Linked DNA regions of Homo sapiens: regions 2, 3, 4, 5 and 6 are each linked to region 1. The links are contacts of gene promoters, found by promoter capture Hi-C in blood cells and fetal thymus (Javierre and others, 2016). All regions are on one chromosome and are shown on one strand. The core of a region is centred on a gene start or on the middle of the fragment in contact, and the rest is flanking DNA. Distances in the headings are between cores, read along the strand shown.

Evidence for each region. The method cuts DNA at HindIII sites, captures the fragments that hold promoters and counts their contacts. A CHiCAGO score of 5 or more calls a contact.
Region 2: a contact is called between a fragment that was not itself captured here and the fragment with the promoter of COXFA4 in region 1, in 1 of 17 cell types (non-activated CD4 T cells). The highest score is 5.3, in non-activated CD4 T cells.
Region 3: a contact is called between a fragment that was not itself captured here and the fragment with the promoter of COXFA4 in region 1, in 1 of 17 cell types (activated CD4 T cells). The highest score is 7.0, in activated CD4 T cells.
Region 4: a fragment that was not itself captured here is called in contact with the fragment with the promoter of COXFA4 in region 1 in 1 of 17 cell types (total B cells); the score reaches 5.2 in total B cells.
Region 5: the fragment with the promoter of CRPPA here is called in contact with the fragment with the promoter of COXFA4 in region 1 in 1 of 17 cell types (non-activated CD4 T cells); the score reaches 7.1 in non-activated CD4 T cells.
Region 6: a fragment that was not itself captured here is called in contact with the fragment with the promoter of COXFA4 in region 1 in 1 of 17 cell types (non-activated CD4 T cells); the score reaches 5.3 in non-activated CD4 T cells.

Annotation. Positions count from the first base shown.
Region 1 is chr7:10,938,064-10,942,563 of GRCh38, forward strand. It overlaps COXFA4 (cytochrome c oxidase associated subunit FA4), which reads right to left and starts at 2,090. Exons shown (of 4, transcript NM_002489.4): 1 at 1,953-2,090; 2 at 745-833; 3 at 27-84. The coding sequence starts at 1,994. It overlaps LOC107986767 (a long non-coding RNA gene), which reads left to right and starts at 2,193. Exons shown (of 3, transcript XR_001745091.3): 1 at 2,193-2,668. RefSeq lists enhancers at 2,073-2,342, 2,227-3,147 and a silencer at 2,373-2,622. The HindIII fragment of the contact is 7,174 bases long and covers 1-3,869 here.
Region 2 is chr7:16,651,437-16,655,341 of GRCh38, forward strand. All of the region lies in intron 1 of BZW2 (basic leucine zipper and W2 domains 2), which reads left to right. Among named protein-coding and RNA genes, the nearest start is that of BZW2, 7.2 kb to the left of the region's middle. The HindIII fragment of the contact is 1,202 bases long and covers 1,636-2,837 here.
Region 3 is chr7:17,946,060-17,950,130 of GRCh38, forward strand. No RefSeq gene overlaps it. Among named protein-coding and RNA genes, the nearest start is that of SNX13, 7.6 kb to the left of the region's middle. The HindIII fragment of the contact is 1,656 bases long and covers 719-2,374 here.
Region 4 is chr7:17,303,194-17,307,378 of GRCh38, forward strand. The region is part of intron 1 of AHR (aryl hydrocarbon receptor); the gene reads left to right. Among named protein-coding and RNA genes, the nearest start is that of AHR, 6.6 kb to the left of the region's middle. The HindIII fragment of the contact is 2,598 bases long and covers 140-2,737 here.
Region 5 is chr7:16,420,288-16,424,532 of GRCh38, forward strand. It overlaps CRPPA (CDP-L-ribitol pyrophosphorylase A), which reads right to left and starts at 1,251. Exons shown (of 10, transcript NM_001101426.4): 1 at 779-1,251. The coding sequence starts at 1,035. LOC105375168 (a long non-coding RNA gene) reads left to right here and starts at 399. Exons shown (of 5, transcript XR_007060223.1): 1 at 399-695; 2 at 2,693-2,750. RefSeq lists silencers at 842-901, 922-1,061. The HindIII fragment of the contact is 1,514 bases long and covers 653-2,166 here.
Region 6 is chr7:16,632,504-16,636,695 of GRCh38, forward strand. ANKMY2 (ankyrin repeat and MYND domain containing 2) reads right to left here. Exons shown (of 10, transcript NM_020319.3): 2 at 3,888-3,952. Among named protein-coding and RNA genes, the nearest start is that of ANKMY2, 11 kb to the right of the region's middle. The HindIII fragment of the contact is 390 bases long and covers 2,570-2,959 here.

The DNA of each region.
Region 1 (4,500 bases), core at 840-3,339:
AACTTTAAAACAATTTTGTAGTTTACCTTGTATTGATCATTGGGACCCAGTTTGTTCCAGGGCTCTGGGTTATTTCTGTCCCAACTAAAAGAAATAAAACATTACGACTGTTATAATAATAAAGCACTATTTAGTGTTTTGTACTAAGAATACATTTTTGAACAGATCAATCTTATTTTCTATTAGATGAGGTATGGTGTTATTTCATTATGAAGTTGAAACAGGTAGAGGATCTATAATAAGCAATCTCATGTAATCAATTAGAAAAAAGGTAGAACACAGAATCCCTATCACAAGATACTTTTTATCTGGCTTTCACAAAACCTTTCCATTTAATTAATAAAGTGATATACAGAAAAGTGCATAGAATAATGATGAATCAATCTTTTGATTGTCTATTGTTTTTCAACTGCAAATGTGCAAGTGAAGGCAAAAAACATTTACATGTGCCGAGAACCATGATTATTTTATAAAAACAATTATTTTTATGTCAATCCTCAAAACATTACAAGATTTGGTATTAGCAGTTCTACTTTACCAAAGAGAAAACGAGACTCAGAGAAATTAGATAATTTCATGAACCAAAAAAAGTAAATGAAAACAGCAGATTTGAGATCTGAACTTATTGTATGACTGTAAATGTAACATTCTTTCTACTACCCTAATGTTATCGCCCTACAGAGACTGTGGCTCCTAAACTGCCTTGATCAGCTATCAAAGTTTTAAACATTTTTAAGTACTTACCAAACATCTGGATTGAACAATGCCAGACGCAAGAGATACAGTGTTGCTCCAGTAGCTCCAGTTCCAATAAATACAAAGAGGGGGATCAACTAAACCAAACACAAAATAGAATAACCATCTTCAAATACTTAAAACACTGGCCAACGAGAGATTACAGTAGTTTCTGCACATTGATTTCCAAGTCTCAAACTGTTATTGGACTGTTTTGTCTTAAAATTTAAATAAAGTAGATCTTACATTGAGGTAAGATTTCTTATAACTGTGTTCTAAAGAAAGAAATGGAATTTGGAAAGGATGTTAAGATGACTCTGGTTTAAGTGTCTTACTTTTTAATGTGGAGCAAATTATAGGTACATTTTTAAATTTCCAAGAAAATGTATCGAGTCTTCTTCACCTCTCTAATATTTACATGTCATTCCCATTAAATTTTCTGGCTTCCTTTATCCTGGGGCTTGAAAAACAAATTCTTTGCAAATTATTTAAGGGTGCCTCTATAAAGATGTATGAAAAATAGAATCTGAATAAGTAAACGTATCTATTACAAATACTGGCTTTAAGCATTATCTCTGAAAACGTAATGCTACCAATGCTTGCTGCGTATTTAGGGAACCGGATTTAAGACAGATTAAAGATTGCATAGACTTTTAGCTCTACAGCACATTGATGTGCTGAGGAAAAATGAGATGCCAAAGAACTTAACTGCAATTTCCACACTTCGAAATTTTCCCAAAAGCAACGACGTCCAGACAAAGTGAGGATTCCAAGATCACGGACCCCTCTTATTTACCAAAAGGCCTGGTGGTGCAATGCGGCGAATACAAGAACCTCCAGAGATGGTATAACACATAGGGAACCTGACCTATGCTAGTCTCTGACCCACACAGCGCACATCTATCCCTCCTGGACCGCACAACCTGCAAAAGAGAGCGGCCACCAGACTGTTCCAATATTCACTAACTAGAAAAAACTAGGTTTTTTTTCCGAGCAGTGTCCGTCTCCTTCCTCCTGTCAGACAAAACCCCACAATGCATGGCGTAGAGGGTCACAGAGGCCTGGGACAACTAAGATGACAAACACTAGGCGAGGCAGGGTCTGGTCTGACGGACGGTAAGTGGCTGTAAATGAGGACGTTCCCAGGGAACAGAAAGAGGCGCACCCCGACGCAAGAAGGACAAGGGAAAACATTAGGAGAGCGGTCACGAACTTACGCTCGGATGCTTCTTGGCCTGACCGATGATCTGGCGGAGCATGTTTGCGGCAGAGGTCTCCGACTGGAAAGGAGAGAACCGACCTAGCCACCAGGCCCTAAGCTAAAAATTATCTGCAATGAGACACTACGGACTTCCAAAGTCACCCAGGACCTCCTACCTGAAGGACCCTTGGCTGGGAGGGCAGCTTGCGGCAGGAGGGCCCGGATGCGACTGTCTTTAATAGTGCCTGCTTAGATCTAACCCCTCATATGTTCGTCCTGACCTGGTCGGACCATCATCATTCCACTTCATAGTGAAATGCCTTCATTGCCGTGCCATGCATATTTCTGAGGGGAATTTTTTTGGTCGAAACGAGGACTCTTCGATTGACCAGACAGGCACTTTCCAAGGGTGCCACGTACTGAGGAATGCGGTCGGAGCGTGGGCGCACGGGCCGCGCGCTCCGTGAGTAGGGGGCCTCTCCCGCGGCGCCTGAGAGCCGGGTCCGCGCGCAGAGGCCCTGGGGGCGCGCGTGCCGGGTGCGCGCTGGCCAGCTGTGACTGCCGCTGAGGGAGCTGCGCGGCGCCTCTGGGAGCCGAGCGCCGGGCGCCTGGAGGGCAGGTCGGGCCTCTTGCCGCTAAGGTCAGCGGCTGCGGTTTGAGAAGACTGCAGCTGCTTCCTGTGTTACGCTGTCGCAGACAAGCAGAAGTTAAAAACTAGTAAATGACTTAAAGGTGATAATAGTCCTGGCAGTGTATTTCTGAACCCTCAGATCCTGGCCCTCGGTTGAAAGTTCGTCGCCACAAAGACCTTTCCAACACGCCACTATCCCCCGTCCCTGGTCCCAAATTGCATCTTTAAAATGTGTTTTCAATGGTCGTGTAGCTACAGATAATCTTTCCCACTACCCCAGTCGAATTTTCATTTGTCTTTTGTTTTGTTTTCTTCGTTGTTTTTTTTACCCGAAGGACTTCCATAGGACAGGCTTTGCGGGGGAGGGTGGGGGGATTGGGATAAAATGTACACTCTGAACCCTCTCCAATCTCATACGTAGCTTAAAGCATTAATCAAATGATCAAGCAAGTATTAATAATTGGGACTAGAAATCATAGGAGAAGGCTCCACCGGAAGTTACACTAGCTCTGAAGGAGGAGCGGACATTAACCAGGTGAAAACGGAGGATGCAGGTGTACAGGGCGGAGGTAATAACACGTGAAGGTCTGAAGCTATTGAAAACCCGAGGGAGCTGTATGAGGTCTAGTGTGGCTGGAAAGTAAAAGGGAGAGCAAGGTGGGGATCAGATCTGCTGGGCCAATAACCGCTTAAACATCATGGGTTTTATGTTGAGAGCTTGGGAAGGTTGTGTTTTTAAATGATTGCTTTGTGAATAATTGATTAGAAGGGATAAGCGTGAGAGGGGAAAGACCTATCAAGGGGCCATTGCAATAGTCCATAATCTGTGTGACAGATAATGGTAGCTTGAACTAGTGTAGAGAATGTAATGATGAGAAAAAAAGATTCCAGAGATGTTTAGAAGGTGGCACCAACAGGACTTGGTGGTTGGCTCTCCAGGAGTGAGGAGAGAGAAGTTAAGAATAATTTCAGAGGTTCAGTTTTGAGCAGCTCTGTGGTTGTTGATGCCAGTTATTGAAATAAGCCGTAGAGAATGATGTATAAGTGCCTATGTAAAATTCAAGTGGATCTCTATGGGGCAGAAGAGAACTACACTATAAGTATAAATTTAGGACTCAGTTTACTGATAAGAAATGAACCCATGTGACTGAATGAGATTACTTAGGGAGAGAAAGTTGACTGAGAATTTAGACAGAGGACACAGAGCCGAGGAATTCCAACATGCAATGCTTAGAAGAGGAGGTATGGCCAGTAGGTAGGAAAAAAAAAATAGATGGTAACTGTTAAGGTGATATGTCATGAAGCTTATCAAGACTGGTGTCTTTTTTCATTCATTCAGCAAATCTTTCTTAAGTACCTACTCTCCACTAGGCACTGTTCTAGCCACTAGAGTTATAGCAGTGAACAAGAAAATTACTCTGCGTTGCTAATGGAGCTTACATACTAATTGAGGAAGACAAACAATAAACAAATGAGATAATTTTTAGACAGTGACAAGCCAATAAAATAGAATAATGAGACAGACAATGACATGGAAGAGGTGGAGGAGAGGAGGTTACTTTAAGTAGACAGGACAGGGAAGGTCCGTCTGAGGATTTCTGAGTTGAAACCTAAATGAAAGGAAGGAAGTAACCTGGTAAAGATGTGGGAAGAACACTAAATTAGTAAGAGAAATGGCTTTGAGATTTAAAAAAAGAAGAAGAAGAAGAAGAGTGCTTAAAAAAGTATCAGTGTGGTTGATCCATAACTAAGGAGAAAAAGAGGAAAATGAGAGCAAACAGTGGAGTCTGTAAAGTCTATGTCCAATTCTCTGACATGGACCTTATAGGCTATGGTAAGGAGCATGGCTGTGTTAAAAGATCAGCACAAAAACATGGAAAATACTTAGAAGTGAACAAAGAAACCTTAGTGAGTGTAGATAGGCTTTCAGCAA
Region 2 (3,905 bases), core at 987-3,486, 5.7 Mb after region 1:
TTTCAAACTAACCTGGATTTATGGTCATTTCTAAGAAGAAAAAAGAAATGTTATATGTTTTTCTCAGTGAACAAGGTAATTGAATGGGACTATTATAAACAGGAAAGAGAACCCCTAGTTGTCGGTGCAGAGGAAACTGCTGGCTGGAGGAAAAGGATGCGGTGTTAGTATTTGGGAGTGTGAAGATTGTGTTTGTGTTAGAGTTGAGCTTCTGCAGGAAACAATTTAAAAACTGTATCCTATAGTGCTAGAAATTATGGTGCCATAAATTTTCTAATATTCGTATGTCCCTAAGAGGCAATATTGTTAAATTCTCTCTCTAAAGATAAATGCCTTTTCCCCCCCACCGCTTAATAGAACTCTATGGAGAACTCTTTGGTATTTTGGAAGTAACATATGCTAATTCAATTTATCCAAGTGCTGAACTCAACTTTAAATTAATATTTATGCGCTACTCCATCTTATTCCAAACTATAAAATTTATGAGGCAAATAATGAAAAAGCTGTCTTCGAGAATCATATAAATAATTCTCTAAGACATTGCAACAGCTTTAGTTGGCTCCTTGGAAAATGCACTGAGTGGAGACAGTGGATCAGGTTCTGGCCCCAACTCTTCCATGTACATAAGCTCCAGATGGGCAGGGATCGTTCTGCTTTGATCTCCACTGTCTTACCAATGCTAGAATGGAATTCCTGACCTCAGCCAAGTGGTTTGACATCTCAGTGCCTTATCTGAAGGTTAGCTTAGGGACTGGGCTTACATCCATGGTTTTCAAAGTATTCCATTCCGCGTGGATGCCACTTGTAAGTTACAAAGTAAAAAAACACGCACTTAATTATTAAAACGTTAATAAACACAACTGCATCTCGAATGCATCATATGTTGTCTTTAAACATACTGGAGACAATCAGTGCTTGCTAACTTGTTCTGCCCGATTGTGCAATACTTGGAACAAAGCTCCACCTGCTAGAAAGTGACCTCCATGAAATTTGCCTGATTTAGTGCTTGCTGCATCCCTATTGACTAGTACCAGACCTGGTATATTTGGCAAACAAATAAATGAATGATTCTCTGTAGGTTTAAACCTTTTTCTTTTGAGACGGAGTTTCGCTGTTGTTGCCCAGTCTGGAGTGCGATGGTGTGATCTCGGCTGACTGGCTGACTGTAACCTCTGTCTCCTGGGTTCAAGTGATTCTCCTGCCTCAGCCTACCGAGTAGCTGGGATTACAGGCGCCTGCCACCATGCCTGGCTAATTTTTGTATTTTTAGTACAGACGGGGTTTCACCATGTTGGCCAGGCTGGTTTCGAACACCTGACCTCAGGTGATTCGCCCGCCTTGGCTTCCCAAAGTGCTGGGATTACAGGCATGAGCCACCATACCTGGCTTAAACCTTTTTAAAATGTATGATTCAGAGAGCTTGTAGCTCTGTACTAGTTCTTTTTTATTTCCTTTAATTCAATTTTGTATGGTCCACTTCTGTAAAGTTGTGTTGGGGAATCCAGTCCCATGTCATCAGCGTGCCCTAGACTAGGCTTGGCATTTCTATCCAGTTCATGCTCTCATTATGTAATAAGCATGCATATGGAAAGTAACTTTGTGTGTGTGTGTGTGTGTGTGTAGCCCTTCAAATAAAGCTTCACCTGCTAGACAGGCTTGGGCAGGTCCCCTTCTGGGAGGATGGGAGTTTCTTGGTTGAGAGAACTAGTAAGTGAGCCAATATTTGGACTCATGCCCACCACCACCTTTGAGCTTCCTGAAGGTCCACTATTACGATTTTTAAGCAATTGCTCCAAAACAGAATTCTCTCACTGTCTACCAGTCTAGGCCTTACTTTTCTTTTTATTTCTTTTTTTTCTGAAGATTTTATTTTCCTCTTTTCCATGATTAAAAATCCTCTGAAGAGAGGCAAACACTTCAACACTCTTTTACTTTAATAACTTGTCTTCTGACTTCCCACTGGAGTAATAGTCACCAACACTCCCATCAGTTTTGTGTCTGTCTTAAACTAACTTGCTCTCTGGCATTGCCACTCCACTTCTTGCTGATTTTCATCTCCTGGTTCTCCTCACCTCAGTTAGCAAGGCCAGTGTTGTGTGTGCTGTCCATAGCTCCTTTCCTCTAGGTGGAAAGTAAATCTCATATAAAATCATCTTTCTCCTCTACTATGTAAAGCTCAACATGTATTTAGGTATCTTCCAGTGAAAAAGCACTTTTCTGGAGGAAGGAACATTGGAGATGAGAATACTCATTAATAATAAATATTACTTTTGTCTTCAGTGGAGGTGAAAATCTCGAATGCATAGGCATTTTCTAAAAGGTTACATAGGATGATGTTAAAGGGTTTAAATTATTATCATCTCCATGGAGTGGGGCTAGGATATAAGGTCAAGAGTGAAAGATTGGGAAGAGCACTACCCTTCTGTACTGTGTTGGGGTTTTTTGTTTGTTTGATTTTGTTTTGTTTTTGCCATCAGTGTGTTATTACTTTAAAGTTTTAAATCACTAGTTAAAATAATATAGAGACTGGCTGGGCATGGTGACTCATGCCTGTAATCCCATCGCTTTGGGTGGCCAAGGTGGGCAGATCACTTGAGGCCAGGAGTTCGAGACCAGCCTGGCCAACATGGCAAAACCCCATCTCTACAAAAAAAAAAAAAAAAAAAAAAAAAAAATACAAAAATTAATTACTTGGGAGACTGAGGCACGAGAATCCAAGGGAGGCAGAGTTTGCAGTGAGCTGAGATTGTGCCACTACACTCCAGCCTGGGTGACAGAGTAAGACTCTGTCTCAAAAAGTAATAATAATAATATAGAGACCATCTTGCTTTTTTCTAAGCTTAAAATTATAATATTATTAACAAATTTCAAGGACATTTCCTTCTCTATAAGAGTTTCTGCTTTTCCTAAAGTGATGCAATGGAACAGATGACTTTTAAAATAAAGATTCAGAGAATATCACTGAATCAAGTTATATAACTCCAAGTCCAAATGCAAATCATTTTTAAATTGTATTTTAGCATAATATGAGAAAAGATGGTAGAATTTAATTTTAATTTTTTTCTGTATATAACCCCCCCCCCCCAAAAAAAAACGGATGATATTTATTTATTTATGAGACGGAGTCTTGCTCTGTCAGCCAGGCTGTGATACAGTGGCATGATCTTGGCTCACTGCAACCTCTGCCTCCAGGGTTCAAGTGATTCTCATGCCTCAGCCTCCCAAGTAGCTGGGGTTACAGGCGTGCAACACCATGCCTGGCTAATTGTTTTTTTTTTTTTTAGTGGATACACGGTTTCACCATGTTGCCCAGGCTTGTCTCAAACTCCTGACCTCAGGTGATCCGCCTGCCTCAGCCTCCCAAAGTGCTGGGATTACAGGCATAAGCCACCGTGCCCAGCCTGTATACTATACTGTGTTTAAGTGTGAACAGTGGTCATTACTGAAAGTTAGACTGATAGATTTTTTCTAATTTTTCCTTAAATATTCTATAATATACATGATGAGCTGACCTTATAATCAGTGATTTTTAAAGGTTACCTCTCACTTTCAAATAAAGATGCTGTTGTTTCTCAGCTTAATCACCTACTTTTTTGCTTCTGTTCAGTATTTTGTCATAAAAACCTGGTTGGACACACCAGATAGCTTCAAAGTGGCCACCTACTTTTTTCAATGGATTAGACTCTGAATGATCTCTGGCGACTTTCTAAAATTAAATCCTCTATCAAACAAGGAAATTTCTCATCATTGAGTATAGTCAAAAGAATGATCTGTAGACTCCAGAGGAAATTCTAAAAAAAGTTTCATAAATCTATTAATTAAAAGGGGTTTTGTTTAATGGAAGCATTATTAGTTCATAGTTTTTCTTTATTGAAGGAAGAAATTACTTTGATGGGTAAATGCTG
Region 3 (4,071 bases), core at 297-2,796, 7.0 Mb after region 1:
TTAATTTGCATACATTTTCACTCTTTGTGCTGCAAAGTTCTGCAAGTTCTGACAAATGCATTATGTCAGGTCTCCACTTTATAGTATCATACAGAATAGTTTCATAGCCCTAAAACATAAAGGAAAAGAGAAGTACATAACAAAATTGCCTTTACATATTTATCTGTAGACCCAAACAACTGATCATTGTATTGAATAAACTTCACTTGAATCATAGAGATATTTATATTGATATATAATATGTAATCGATTTCTCTATAATACCTAATTACCTAATACTTGTTAAAGTCTTACCATATGCTAGTAGCTGTTCTAAGTGCTTCACAATAATCCTATAAGATAGAAACTGTTATTTCCATTTTACAAATGAGTAAACTGAGGCTCAGAGAGTTAAAATTTTTTGCTGAAGTTTACATAGCTAGTAGAAGAGCCAATATTTAAAGAAAAAATTATATATATACATTTATACATAACTGTGTATATGTATAAACTTATCTATATGTACGTATATATGTCATGTGAAGTTGTATGATACAGAATTGTGTGTGTACTGTGTCAAGTATATTAATTAAGCTAACTTTAAGAACTAAAAATTTTCAACCATCTTTGTCCTTCATTTTTTAATGTGAATCATAAATGTTGTGGTGGGTCCTTGAACTCCTGTTTTTGCCTTTAGCCAAAGAAGGAAATGAGAAAAGGAATCAGTACTCATAGATGAAGCTTAATACGTGCCTATATTTAAGGCTTACCTCAGCTGGTTTCATTTTTACAGAAGAAGGGTGAAATCAAAGGCTGTCATTATATTGCTTCCTGTTTTACTATTTTAACAACTGAGGTAAAATAATGAGATTATTCTAAGAATTGCTGTTGTTTTTAAATGATAATATGATAATTTGCACAGTTAATTTGGCATGTCTTCACCCTTGCATATATGGTGATCTTTTTGTTTTGAATGAAAATTTTAAATTGAAAACTATTTATAATAAATGTATATACAATTAAATGGAAGAGATGTTACACACATGCCCCATAATATTGGCTGTGGAATAAAAAGAATACAAGCGTGGAAAGATTTGCACTGTGGCCTTGCCTTTGCTGTTTAATGAGATTAAACCTTGGAAATGAAAGATCACCATTTGTTGAGCTTCAGTTTCCTTTTCTGTAAAGTAATGAAATTAAAACATATAATTAGAGTAACACTAATATACTGTCTACATTAATACGGTGGGTTATTATTGTAATCATTGGACAATGCCTTGTGGCTCAAGATCAAATGCTTCATAAGGTTTCTTTTCGTGTTAAAACTGTTATACTTAATGAAAGTAAGTTGCAGTTCATTTTCTTATCACTTTCCTTCAACAAACATATGCATCATCACCTTTTTACAAAAACCTTGCTACCAAGCAGTGGCACAAACTGCTGTGAACTATTTTGTGTATGATAATGAACTCCTTGAATTACCACCTTTCTATTTAAAATGAGACACCTCCTACCTTATAATGGCCATATGTGCAAATATCCATGAACAGAAAAATCAGCAAAAATGTCAAGAAAAGTCCTGGTGTATAAAGACAAATCAAATTATCAAATAAAAGACATGTAAAATCAGGCTATTTGTTCTTGAAATCTATGGGATGTTCACCTAATCTCGATGGATAAGATTTGTATTCTGTCTTGTTCACTAAATCAGCAAAATGCTGAGGGCTTCACATTTTATTTTTAAAAATAGATGTCCTTTTCGAGTTTTCCTGTTGCTGGGGAAGTGTTCTTGCTGTTGCTAACAGAGAGCTAAATGTTCTGCTTTGAATGGGATGTGTTTGTTTTTATTGGTAGGAGTGGCAGAAGGATGAATGAAGGAATTCATGTTTTTTAACTGTGTTTCTTTAAGTGACATGTCTGCCTTCTGGGTAGAGGTACCCCATTGGCTATTTACCAGATAATCTGTCTATACAATCATAGAATATGCTCATTTGTTTACATATTATTTTATTCATTAAATCTTAAATGGGCTAACTATTCAAATTTAGAGAGCATAAGGTTATGGAATTCATATCAGGAACATCAATTATCGCTCAACATCTAGTGGTTAGAAGGTACACAGAAGATACTTAAACCCTTTACATGTTTGCCTAATGTAATTTAGCCTCAAAAAAGGGAAGAAAAATAGATGAGATCTGGCTTTTTCTTTAAATCTTCTGATCATATAATTAAAATACAAGCCATTGTTTCTTAATCTTTATATATTACTCTTTGCTCTATTTACCACAGGAAACTGATGAGAGAAATATCACAGACAAAATATTACAAATTATTACTTTGGTATATACTGTGCTTAAAACTGCATGGAAAAACAGTAGTTATTCTGGCTATCCCAAGCTTAAAATAGGAATTACAGAATTACTTTTTAATGTAATTTTATTGCCCTAAAGTTAAGTTCTATATTATTATGATTTTAATTCTGTTGTAGTACTCTGTAAAAGATTGTTGATTTCTTAAACAAGAGCTTTTACTTTGTTTGAAGTTATGTCTGTTCTTCTGAGTAATTCATTGAACTTTATGGATATGCCAGAAAATTTGGTAATGCTGAAATTCTACACTGTGAAAATATAATTGAGTTTCTAAATTTCATGTTTGTCTTTAGGGGAAGGTTGTTAATCTGTGAGTCATTGGTTTATGGGGAGGAGGCAATATTTCATAATATCTCTCTAAATCAATCTGTAGCATGACGATGCTATGTGTTCACCTAATTATTTCATTTTCCTCATTGATGTTGAAAGAGCTTACATGCTCTACCTATTTGGGCAGGGTGGTCTAACTAGCTTACATCAAAGGAGTGTAGCAATCCTCCCATCTCTCCATCTTCCAAGGTGACCTTGGATGCTACAGATTGAGATAATAGAAACTCAAACTGGAAGGAACCGCACAGGAGAACCCATCTACTAGATCAGGAAAAAAATACCTTTGGACTTTGCATGAGTGACAAATTCTTTTATTATTATGGGTGGCTGTTACAGCAGCTGGCAATATATGCCCTGAATTAAATGCCCTCTAACTCTACTTACTGAGAATAGAAAGTTTCTAACCTAAGGAATGTTTGCCCTCTTTTTCCCCCCACCCTTCAGAATGAGGGGACTGTTTTAATTAAGTGATATTACTTAAGTAGATCTCCAATTGATTTACAATTCTCTAAGGACTATGGCCTTAATAAATCATGTCCTAGGTGTTATAGATTAGAACACACACACACACGCAGATTAAGATTTCTGGGTGAAAAGGGTGACCTCAAAACCCTGCTGTGGCCGGGTGTGGTGGCTCCCAAAGTGGTAATCCCAGCACTTTGGGAGGCCGAGGTGGGTGGATCACTTGAGGTCAGGAGTTCAAGACCAGCCTGACCAACATGGTGAAACCCTATCTCTACTAAAAAAAAAATACAAAATTAGCTGGGCGTGGTGGCACACACCTGTAATCCCAGCTACTCGTGAGGCTGAGGCAGGAGAATTGCTTGAACCCAAGAGGCGGAGGTTACAGTGAGCTGAGGTCGCACCATTTCATTCCAACCTGGACAACAAGAGCAAAACTCCATCTAAAAACAAAAAAAACAAAAAAAACCCTACTGCAACCAGGTTACACAGAAAAGAAAACCAAGGAAGCAATGAATAGCAATAAGGATGAATAAGACAGTTATGGACCGGAAACAGTGAACAGTTACTCTGAAAATCCTGAGAACCTCTCCAGAGAGTTCCGATAGCTAATATAATCCAAGGATGTGGTCAAATTGGAAACTAAGGGAGTACACGTAGGTGTTTTGCTTAGGAATCTGCATCAAAGAATAACTCAAGTCACCTGGATTGGGGTGGATTTTGCCCTGGGGATGTTTGACAGGTGCTTCTCACCTCTGACAGTCACCCACACTGACAGTTCACTTGGGTGAACAAGGGAACTAATGCTTATTGAATGCCTCCTCTGTGCCAGGCACATTATGTGCGTTACCTTTAAACTTCATGGGGTAAGTATTGCTGGCCCCATTTACACAAGGAAATAAAATTCAGATGGATAATTTGCCCAGGAGTT
Region 4 (4,185 bases), core at 189-2,688, 6.4 Mb after region 1:
ATTTTCTTCATTTTTATAATAGTACTAAAGAAAGGTAGTATTATTTAAGTTTATAGATAGGGAACTGAGATTCAAATTCAGAGTTGCTCAGATAATGAGAAAGAGTTTGGATATTGGATCCCAGGTCTTTTTGCTTCAAAGCTTGTGTTCTTACTGACTTGTGTTCGTACTGTCCAGGTGAACAGATTCAGTGATGCATACAGTACAGCCATATCCTAGGGATTTTCACTGTTTCTTCTCAGATAGTGTTATGGCTGAAATAAATTATTTGTCATTTCCCATACATAATTTGTACTTGCTCATCCCCATACTTGTGTTTTTACGTCCTTTCCTCTTAGAGTCTTTTCTCCTGTCTTATTGATTTGCTACCCACCTCCCTTCCTCTTTAAAACATTGTTTTTAAAGGCTGCATAATACTCTGTTGTACTAATATTCTATAATTTTTTTAACTGTTTTTCTTTTGGGAGGAAATTTTATTCCCAACCATTTAATACTTTAATATTTCAGAGAATACCCTTGGGACGTGTAAATTTTAATGCAAATTTATTTTTTTAGGAAAAAATTCCTGTAAGGGAATTTTGGGATAGAAAAGTATGTGTTGTTTTAAGGTTGAACCAAATCGTACACTCCAAGAGATAGTATCAAATTAAGAAAAATTTACTAATTACATTCCATCATCAATCTGGGGATGTGACTATATCTTTGCATTTTTGCTTAAAAAATATTATTGTCAATTTCATAGGCAAAAGTGTGGTTGGTAATTAAAGTTATATGTTGGGATCATGGTTATGTATAGGAGAAGCACTTGTATTTGCAGATTTTCTACTTAGGGTGTCCTTTACGTATTCATTTGTTTTGTCTTACATTTTTCAGTCATCTTTTAGTTTGTTCTTTTTACTTCTTTCTATTGAAATATTGTTTTAAAATGTATTCCTATTAAATAATACTGGCAGATTTTAAAAGTCAATTATATATGTGGCACATCTTAAGTATAGCATGTGAGGCCTTATCTTTTGATGTCTTACTGTGGTAGTTAGGGATTTTAGTGCTGTCTTGTCTCACTTTAACCTTTTTCACCTTCCTGCATCCTCCCAATATATTTTATCACAATTTTGGATTATATACACATTAGTGTTGTATTATTTTTGACTGTATATTGTTTACTGTTTAGCTAAGTAATATACTGTGATTATATTTGCCTTCCTGTTCTATGCTATTATTGATTTCTTTTCTACCATCTTCCTGTTTATTAGCATCTGGGTTTAGCTGTCACTTAGGTTCATCGGAGACAGAGTTTGTGTTTCTGGCTCCTGCTTTTCTTGTTTTGGTGTGGTTTTCTGGAAGAGAAGGGTAGTTGCAGAAAGCTAGATATTCTGCCGTCACAGAAACAGAAGTGTCTTGCCTGTATTTAAGACCCGATTTAGATGCCACATCTCCATGAACTCTTTTGCAGCACCTGTGTTACTGAGCAATATATTATGCTTGATTTTGCCATGTTATAAAATATATTTCCTCCTAGTAGGAAAAAGAATGTCTTTAAAGATAGGACTATTATTTGTCTTTGAAACTACCAGAGCTTCCCAGTACAGTACCATGCACTTAGTACATATTTGAGATGTACTAATTTAACAATTAACTACCACTTAAAATTTTTTTGGTAATGTTTTAGTGATTCTGGTAAGGCAGATACATTTTATGCGGGTTCGAGGGGGAATAAAAATGTGTGTTTGCGTAGAAGAAGGGGGAGGGGAAACAATGAGTTTTCCAGGATTATGGAACTAGTAGTGGTTTCTAGGCCATATTTCATTTTCCTGATCTTCCCTGCTAATGTCTTGTGCTAGAAACTATGCTGTTTATATCTCATCATCTCTCCTCAGGTATAGCAAACAAAAGGGAAAGGAAAGAACTCATCACAATTATAGGGCAGCAGCAGGAGGGTGGCAGAAGACTTCTGACTCATTAAAAGTGGCTTCCAGCCAGAATTCTCAGAAGTTTTTGTAGATGTTTTTGACTCATATAGGGAAATAAAATATCCAGCTGTGTTCAGCCTGACAATGAAGTTGGGGTCTATTTGTGCTATGTGTCACCTCCATTACATTAAGCACATAGTTTATGATTGTAAATATTTGAAATTTATATTCAGAGATAAATACGGATGCACTGAAGCTGGGGGAAGGAAATGAAGAATGAATGGGGTTAAGAGTTGGGCTTTATTGGGTGTAGGTAGTATGGTAGGGGGATTTTATTGAGGAATACTTCAGATTTCCTAGCTGTTAGATGGAGAGTAGCACCATAGTGCTGAGAAGCGGGTGCCCAACTCCAGGGGAATGTTGAATGGAAGGGCACAGGGTCAGGTACAGGGACTGGAAATAAAGATAAACAAGTTATGGGTAAGTAGACCAACGCAGTAAGAGTAGATTAAATCACCCCGAGGAAAAATCCGATAGAGCAAACTCAGTACTGTGAGAGGCAATCTCTTGTTAAAAAACGTCACTTTGATCTCATAGGATTACTGAAACCATATCTTTGCATGTCATTTTGAGGTTTTATAATGAATATTATATAAAACAGTTATATTTATGAGTAAACTTGGTTAATTTTTTCAGCTTTGCTTCAAACACTGGCTACAAATGATGAACCTCATAGACTTTTTTGATGGAGATGTTAAAAAGGCTTTCAAGATAGCATTCAGACTGGCATTGGGCATACTGTTGGGCCTGTTACCACCAGCAGTTAAAGCTTGCAGGGCTTCTAAACAGAAGCATGGCATGCAGTCAGCTGGAGTCTTGATTTCATAACAATTTTACAGATTGGGACAAGATTTTTGAGGTAAAGGTTTCAAAAAATAATAAGTTACTCCTTTGCCTGACCAACATCATACGGTCTATTTCAGGAGATGTTTGAACTCCAGAGCTCCCAAATCCAATCTTACAGGGATGTTTATTTATATTTCAAACAGGCTTTTCCTTAAATAATGGTTAGCAGTGTCCTTTCTTAAAGATTCGAAGACAATACAAAAGTAAAAATATTAGCGTAATCCAAGTCAAGTGCAGTTAATGTAAGATTACTCTATTTTTAATTGTTCTGTATATCTTCAAGATGTATGGATAGATATTAAATATTTTAACAAAATCTGTACATTTCTCACAAAATCAGTGAAAAAGTGGGTCAAATGCATTACCTTTGTTAGCTTTAACAATCTGACATTTTAAAAGCTTCAAATCCAGTACATCTGAATTGTTAAGTTCTGAGGGTACTTCTTAGCCCTGACCTTAATTCCTCTGTGTATTTGACTTTCTTCCTCTGTGTATTTGACTTTCTTCTATGACCTCCAAAATATTCTACCCTGGTTTTTTTCCGTCTATCATTTCTTCTCTGTGTCTATGCCTCTTCCATAGCCCTATACCTAAATGTTGGTATTACTGAGGTCTATCCTCAAGCCACTTTTTTCCTTTTCTGGTACAGCTCTCATTAGGAAATGTAGTTGTTCTTCTGAGCTACAAATCGCAGAACCATTTGCAACCTCTCCTCACTCAATGGTTTCCTCTTCCTTACTTCCTATAGTGAGTTAGTTTAGTTCAGTGAACATTTGAGTCTGGCTTAAATCTCTCTTCAAGCCAGTCCTTTCTTAACCTCACTGTCACTGCCTTTGGTCAGGTTGTGATCATTCCTTTTCTTGGCACTTTTGGTCAGCAAACATTAATTGAGAATCCACTCTATTATGCTGGGCATTAAGGATACAAAAATGATTTAAGCTTACATAGAAATAAGGGTGTTAGGCAAACAAGTATAAGCAATTATGTTACTTGACAATGGAAATTTGCTCTCATGTTAAATATTTTGTAAGACACATAGTAATGCATTAGAAATGTAGACAATTTTGCATTATGAAAAGCAAGCCTCAGAATCTAGTGTGAGGCTGAATATTGCAAAGAGCCAGCACAAGACAGGCAGCAGTACCACATGGAGGGATACCTTTATGTTACTATTAGTTCTCCCTGTGTCATAGCATGTTGCCTTGTTTCAGCGTTTGTGTCACTCTCTTCTCTCCAGTGTTTCATAATCATTACTGGAAAGCCACCAAGAGTGCAGGACTGGATTGTGTACACACTTTCTATTTCTGTGAAGTTGTTTGTATGGAATATTCCTTAATGGAATCATTATATTAGACATTTGTATAAGAAG
Region 5 (4,245 bases), core at 1-2,500, 5.5 Mb after region 1:
ATATTTGTAATGCCGCTGCTTCCCACCCCTGCACCCTCGCCCCAAGCTCCACCTCATTACTCAGTGCTAAAAGCAAAGTAAGTTAATATTATAACATACCCCTTCATTTCACTTCCTCAGCTCCTCACGACTGTTCCCCTAGTCCTCCTTATCCCATTCCCTGTCTCCTTCATTTCCCCAACTAGTTAACTTCAGTGCCCTTTCTAAGATAAAGGGGGTATGACCTCAAATTCAGGCTTAAAGCCCTTTCCACCATTGAAAGGTTATTAAATTCTGCTCCTCTCCCCTCCTGCAGCACCTAGTAATTAGCGCAGCCTGTCTCACAGAAGGTGCTCAGTAAATGAATGAAAAAAACGAACACACGCCCTGGAAACTTCAGTGTGCACGTACAACTCAATCCACGCATGCGCGGAGGCAGAGCCCCAGGACCGCGAGACTATCCGCACAGCTTCTCCTCAGGCCCCACAGCTAGAACCCCAAATCGCCTAGTCCCAACCCATGCACTCTCTAATCGGCGCCACACGACGGGCCTTCCCCACAACCTCATCTGCTTGGGGACGTAAAGGGCTCTGTGGGGGAGCTGCAGCTTTCGTGCCCATCTGTTAAAGGCCAGAACTTCCCATCTCTGAAATGCGGGAGGGAACAGAGCTCAAGCTTGAATAACTGAGCGCGGCCCGGCAGTCCCCCAAGTGAAGGTGCTAGCGCTAGAGCAGCGGCAGGGCGGGGAGCGGGAGGCCGGGCCCCAGGGAACCGCGGGGCGCGCCCGGCGCCGCATTACCTCTCCAGGGCCTGTAGGGTGTAGCTGATGAGCGGCCTCTCCAGGATGGGGCAGAATTGCTTCGGGGTGGGGACCCCCATCCTCTCCCCGCACCCCCCGGCAGGCAACACAGCTGCCACGGCTTGCGGGTGGCGCCCGGGCTCGGTCCCGGCCACGCTCTGCAGGGAGGCGGAAGCCGTGTGGTCCGCGCCGCGCTGACCACTCAGGCAAGGACCCGGCTCCGCCGGCCTGGCGCTGCCCGGCGGCCCGGCCTCCATGGCTGCGGGCGGAACGGCGAGCCCCGCTAGCCTCGGGCCGATGCGACCCCGCGCTGCTCCCACCCTCGGCCGGGGTCGCGGGGCGAAGGGCAGACCACGGAGAGGGACGCAGAGCGCGCAAGCAGAAGGCGCCCCCCTCAGCCGTCGGAGCCCCGCTGTTGCTGCCCCGCAGGGGACGATCCCGACAGCTACGGCAGCAGCTGAGGCTGCCGATCTGCCCTCGCGGCTCGGCTGCGGCCTCCGCACCCGGTCCCAGCGCCTGCGGGAGGGCTGACTTGCCCGCTCTGCGCTTCCCCCGGGCAGGCCCAGCTGTCGCCGCAAGTGGAAATGTCAGAACGCCCTACATATCTAAAGATCGCAGATACTCAAGGGCCATGAGTATGCAGGAGAGGTCAGGCCTCTGTCCCATCCCTCCCTGCTTTAAAATTTCGGAAGAGATTGGGATTCAAGTCACAGGATGGGACGTAGGGTGCGTATGCACCTCGATTATCTGAATTCCATTAAGCTCTGGAGGCTTCCTGGTTCCACCTGGGGTAAAGACAGATGGATTAGCAAGTGTTATTGTGGCACATCAATAATCCAAACTGTGGTGGCTCTCAAACTTGTCTGCACTTTGGAACCACCTGGGGAGCGTGTCCTGACACGCTCAGAGATTGGGATTTAATTGGTCTGGTGAGCACCGGACTTTGGAATGTTTTTAAAGATCCTCGGGTGATTCTGATGAGCAGGCATGTTTTGGAACCATAGGGTCAAAGCAATACTAATTGCTGAACAATCGATACACCTTATGTCATTTAGTCCCCAGAAGAACTCAACTATTGCCATTTCCCTTTTTACAAAGGGGAAAAGACGTTAAAATGGTTAATTTATGTAAGATTGCACAACTAATGGCAGAGGAGCCTTAAGGCCCTCATACAGAAGTAGGCCAAAGTTGAAGAATTCCAGGCCTAAAGCATATCTTACCTTATTTAGTACTCTTGTTGCTGGTGAGGTTTACCATGAAAGTATAGTGAGAATTTGGAGGAGAGCACTATTGTATTAGGTCCCTGGAATGTAAACTCCATGCAAGCAGCAACATTTTTCTTTTGGCTTGGGTTGTGTGTGTGTGCCCAGCTCCTGGAATGTAACACAAGCTTAATATGTATTGAATGAATTGCTGATTAAATAGATTAATGATCATTAAAGTGTATAATCATCAGTAATTCAGTCTTAATCCAGTGGCTTATGATTAATAAAAAATAATCTTTTTAAACACTGGAAATGTTATCTAGTTGTAGTATTACAATTTTTATTTTTACCTGTTTTCTTGAGAGCATATAAAAATATGTTTTCTGCTTTTCCTTTTTGTTTAGTCTTATTGAAGGCATTCTTTCACTTTTGTTACTTTTATTATAATTAGCATTTAGGTCCTGTGCTAGTTGGTTTCTTAACTGAAAAGTGGGTGCCATAATATACTTCCTTGTAATTTTTATTGCTATCGTTCCTTTCTAATTTGATCTCGAGGTCTCTCTCTTACGAGTGGCCATAAGCCAGAACAGCCACTCTTCAGGAGAGCCCTGGCCCAGAGAGGAAAGCTAGGTTCTGGTGTGCAGGTGAGACGCCAGAGGAGGCAGCACACAAAACATGTGAAATAACAGGCGCATTTTATTACTTACAGATTCACCAGAGAATAAGCCTGATGGAAGTCTGGAGATAACAGGACTCCCAACCAGCAGGTGGGGTGCAAGAGAGAGGACCTGTGGGGCTGTGTTAAGGTCCAAAGGCTTTATCCCTTAGGCTTTCCAGAGGGGGTTGTGGATTGACTAGTTTAAAGAAAACACCAGCAAAGGGAGAACTTGACTCTGGTGTTGACCATTGGGTTTTATCATGGTTAGCAGCTGTTGGGTTTTTGGTCATGGAATGAGGAATAAGTGTTCTATATCACAGGGAGGGGAAGTTTTAAGTAGGCCACAGGTGACGTGATACAACTGGGTTTCAAACAGCTTATATCAGGCCTAAAAATGGATGCCCAGGCAGCAACTATATTAAACAAGTTTGGCACAATACTTGACTTCATAGCGCCACTACCACACCTGTATCAAGCATTTAAATATCTGTTGACTAACTGGGTGGATAAATAAATGAGTCTATCTATGAGAGCAGGAAGGCAAATCGAATTAGTATTTCTATTAATATTGATCTTTAAACCTCCCTTTTTAATCTAAAGGTGGAGTTGTTATAAAGGTATTCTTCCTTTACTTAATCTTGAGTGAAGAAAAGTAGAGTAATAAAGCTCTTGTTATACTAATTGCTATAGAATAATTTTATATAATTAAACATTGACAAATTTTAACTAGAATCTTAGTTTTGTTCTTAGAGCAGATATATCAATTTAGATCTTCCATGAATCCTTAGATCCTTAGATCTTATATACTGTATATTAACAATGTCTAGCAGACCAACTTGTAGAGAAAAAAGGGCACATTAAAGTATTCATTCATATACGTAGTATGAAGCAACATTTTTCTCTCTGTCCTTTTTATATAAATATAATTAGTTCCATGTTTTGCATACTTTGGGGTAACAGATGTAGCTTCCTTGTTACTTAATACCAAGTTATAGCAGCCACAATATGAGAATATCTTCTCTGCATCAGGCATGTGAAAGTACATACCCTGAAAAGTGAACTCCTCTGGGACCCATTGGTAATAACAATTCTAAGATATCACTTGAAGAGTTTAGAAAAAATAAACCCCAACTGAATCATGAGGCAGAGCATGCAGAGTTGGAAGTTCCTGGAGTGGTTTCCATTTTGAGCTTCCAAGTAGGCAAAATAATGACTCCCCAAAGATGCCCATGCTCTTATCTCCAGAAGCTATGAATATGTTACCTTACACTGCTAAAGAGACATTGCAGATGTGATTAAGTGAAGGATCTCAAGATGGAGGGGAGTAGCCTGGATTATCCAGGTGGGCCCTGTGTAATCTCTGGCATCCTTATAGGAGAGAGGTCAGAGTTAGAGAAGGAGGTATGAGGATGGAAGCAGCCATCAGAGTGCAGAGGGGTGGGAATGTAGGCAACCTCTAAAAGCTGGAAAAGGCAAGGAAACAGGTTTTTCTCTTAGAGCCTGCAGAATAATATAGCCCTGCCACCCCATTTTCAGATTTCTGATATCCAGAACTGTAAGATAACATACTTGAGTTGTTTTAAGCTGCTAAATCTGTGGTAATT
Region 6 (4,192 bases), core at 1,515-4,014, 5.7 Mb after region 1:
ATATGCAATATTTTGTGACTGACTTCTTTCACTTAGCATTAATGTTTTCAAGGTTGATGCATGTTGTAGCAAGTATCAGCATTTCTTTCATCTTTGTAACTGAATAATACCCATCATAGGATTATACTATATTTTGTTGATGTATTCATCAGTTGAACATTTGGGTTGTATCTACCTTTGACTATTATGAATAATGCTGTTATAAACATGCATTTGCATATGCAAAATTTTGTGTGGATATATGTTTTCATTTCTCTTAAGTATATATATAGGATTTCTGGGTCATATGGTAACTCCATGTTTAATCATGTGAGGAACTGCGAGACTATTTTCCAAAGTGGCTACACGATTTAACATTCCCACCAGCAATGTATGAGGGCTCCAATTTCTTTACATCCTTGCTAATACCTGCTATACCACCTTTCTGATTATAGCTATCCTGGTGGATATGAAGTGGTATTTCATTGTGCTTTTTATTTGCATTTCCCTGATGGTTAATGATGTTGAGCCTTTTTTCATTATGTATTGATCACTTGTATATCTTCTTTGGAGCAATATCTATCCAGATCCTTGGCTCATTTTTTAATTGAGTTATATATTGTTTTATTATTGAGTTGTAGAAGTTCTTATTATTTTCTAGTTACAAGTTCCTTATCAGATATAATTTATAAAATTTTTCTCCCATTTTGTAGACTGTCTTTTCACTTTCTCGGTGGTACGCTTTGAAACACAAAAGTTTTTAATTTTGATTATTTCCAGCTTATCTATTTTTATATTGTTGCTTATGTTTATCTGCTTTTAAAATTTTTTATTTCTGTTTTTTCTAAATCATTTCTTTTTTTAGTATACTTACTCTTTTAATAATTTCATGAACTGAAAGCTCAGAACACCATAAAGATTAAAAGTGCAATGATAAACACTACAAAATTTCTTTTGAGTATCACTTTGGCCAGCAAACAAAGCTTTTGATAAATGTTGTATTTTCAGTTGTAAACAGTCAGCAATTTTTATTCCTATATCTTCATTAACCTGAGAATTATTTAGAGACAAAAAAACAAATTCCAAGATATGTGCTTCATTATTTGGATTATATTTTTGTTTCTTTTCGAATGTATTATACTACATTTAGCAAAGCTGTCTGAAATAAGCTACAATTTCCGTTATAAAATAGTATAATACATGGATTAATTTTTATCAATGTTACATGTAAAGAAGATATACTATTTTTTTCTGCTAATATACAGTCCATGTACTGTTAATTGGGTTGTCCAAATTTTCTACATCCTATGTTACTTTTTTTCTATTTAATCTGTTAGTTTCTAAAAGGTGCTATTGCGATCTTACAGATTTCTCCTTTGAGCACCATCATTTTTTTCTTTATGAACCTCAATGCCTATAGCTGATAAGTTTATAAGAAAAGGCTTAAGGCTATTATGTTCTTGGTGTATTATTAATTTAATATATAAGACAGAATATCCATATAATTATTTTTTGCTTTAAACTTTATTTTGTCTGATATTAATTTTGCTACCCATGTGTGGGTAAAGAGTTAACAGAACCCCTTTCCCTTCTGCATGAGAAATTGAAGTTCAATGAACTTTTTAGCACTAGACTGTGCTATATAATATAGTAGCCACTAGCCACATATGGCTATTTAAATTTAACTTCTAATTAATTAAAATTAAACAAAATTAGAAACCGGTACTTCTAGCCAAGATATAGTAACAGAAACCAGAGTTATCTTCTTCCTAGAGTAACAGAAAAACAGACAAAATAACAATTTGCAAGACACTGTCGGTTAGGCAATAAAACACATGATCCCTGAGAAAGGGAAAGCAACTGAATTGGCTCCTGCAATTGCCTAGCTTATAACCTTAAGAGGGTTTATAGGTTACAGTATATGGAGAGGTCAGCCAGACTGAGCCTGGCAGACTGCATTGAGGCGATGGAGTTGAGCATCCAGGGTCACCAAGTTGGCTTAAGTTCCCAGGAAGAGTAAAAGAGAGAAGAGAGCTGCACAGAAAGGGAATTCTAAAGATCTGCAGAGGGTTTCTTCAGAGTGTTTGGCTGGAGTACTGATCAACACACGCGTATGTGGAAACTACCCAAGCCTGGGCAAATAACTAGCTGACAGCATTACAAGGAATAGCATCCAGTGCTCACACAGGGCCAGGAAGAGTGCCTGTTCCCACCAGCCAGGCTTGAAAACCTCAAGCATCTGAGAACATTGCATAGAGGACAAGGAAGTGCCTTAGTTCAACACCAGGAAAAAAATCCTTTACTGAGCATTTTGCTAGTTCCACCTAACAAACATTAAAAACTAGAACTGAAATAATCAAACTGCTTCCAAGTAACTTAACTGTGTTCATGAAAAAAAGCTCAGGAGTATTTATCAAAATACAGAATCATACAGCACCCAGTAAGGTAAAATTGACAATGTCTAGCACCCAATAAAAAACAATCAAACATGGAAAGAATAAAAACATACAACCCATAAAGAGAAGATAAATCATTCAAAAGAAATAAAAACAGATGTCCATACCAACATTTGTACATAAATGTTCATAGAAGCTTTATGGTAATCATCCCCAAACTGGAAACAACCCAAAACTCTAACAGCTGATGAATGGATAAAAAGATTATGGTATACACATACAACAAAAAAAACTACTCAGCAAGAAAAAGGAATAATATATGCTACAGCATGGGTGAATCTCTATGCTAAATAAAAGATGCTAGATTAAAAAAAGAGTACTTATTGTGTGATCTCATTTATATGAAATTCTTGGAAATGCAAACTAATATATTGTGACTAAAAGCAAATTAATGCTTTTTGCAGGAGTGGGTGGGGAAGGGCAGGAAGGAGAGATTACAAAGGGGTATGAGGAAATCTTTGAGGTAATGGATATCTACGTTATCTTGATTATAGTGATGGTTTTACAGGTATATACATATGTCAAGCTTAACAAATTTTACACCTTAAATATGTATAGCTTATTATATATTAATTATACCTCAATAAAGCTGCTAATAACCGAAAGAAATGAAGGAATCTAAATATCCATTTCCTCAGTCAAACTTCCCTTATTTGAAGTGTTTAATGGTCACACATGGCCAATGGCTACTGTAATGCTCAGATGTTACCACCATTTCCAAAACTTATTTTAGAAGCAACTATTCTAGGAAATTGAGTTTAGGTTCACTTAACTTTCCCTAGAACTGAAGTTGCTGGATCAAATAATATACTCAGTTAAAATTGATACATATTCCAAAATTTTCTACAGAATAGTACATCAATTTACACTTAACCATTAGCATTTAAAAGTCCATTTTTCCCCATGCTTGACAAGAAATAATATGATTTTGACTTTATTTGCACTTATTTGATTACTAATAAGACTAAACTATTTTTACATGCTTATTTTTCTTTTATGACCTATTTGCTTACATTTAGTTTAGGAATTATTAGTGTAATATGAGCAAAAATGCTAGAAAAAAAACTTGTATTAAGAGATTTGAAGGCTGAGCGTGGTGGCTCATGCCTATAATCCCAGCACTTTGGGAGGCCAAGGCAGGAGGATCATGAGGTCAGGGTTCGAGCTCAGCCAGGTGAATATAGTGAAACCCTGTCTCTACTAAAAATAGAAAAATTACTCAGGAGTGGTGGTGGGTGACTGTAATCCCAGCTACTTGGGCGGCTGAGGCAGGAGAATCACTTGAAACAAGAAGGCGGAGGTTGCAGTGAGCCAAAATTGTGCCACTGCATTCCAGCCTGGGCGAAAGAGCAACACTCCATCTCAAAAAAAAAAAAAAAAAAAAAAAAAAAAAGGATATATTATCTCTTCTTATAGGAAGTAAAATCCTTTATTAAACTTCTAAAATCTTACCTCGTCCAAACAGTTGACACGAACATTCTTGCTGGATAATAATGTTCCAGCTTCTTGGACAGTACCTAAAAAAAAAAAAAAGATGAAAAGTAAGGTTATTCGTCACTAGAATAAGAGAAAAATCTAACATCAAGGAAATAAACCTTAAGGAGTTATCTGTAAGAGTACATCTAGTCAGTGTAGGTTGCTAAGAAATGAAACATCCAATCACATACTATTTATTTTACAAAGTAATTGTCCAGTAGAATAGATTTACAGAAACTAAAAATAGCTCCATCTTGTTTTTATTTTCACTGACCTTAAAG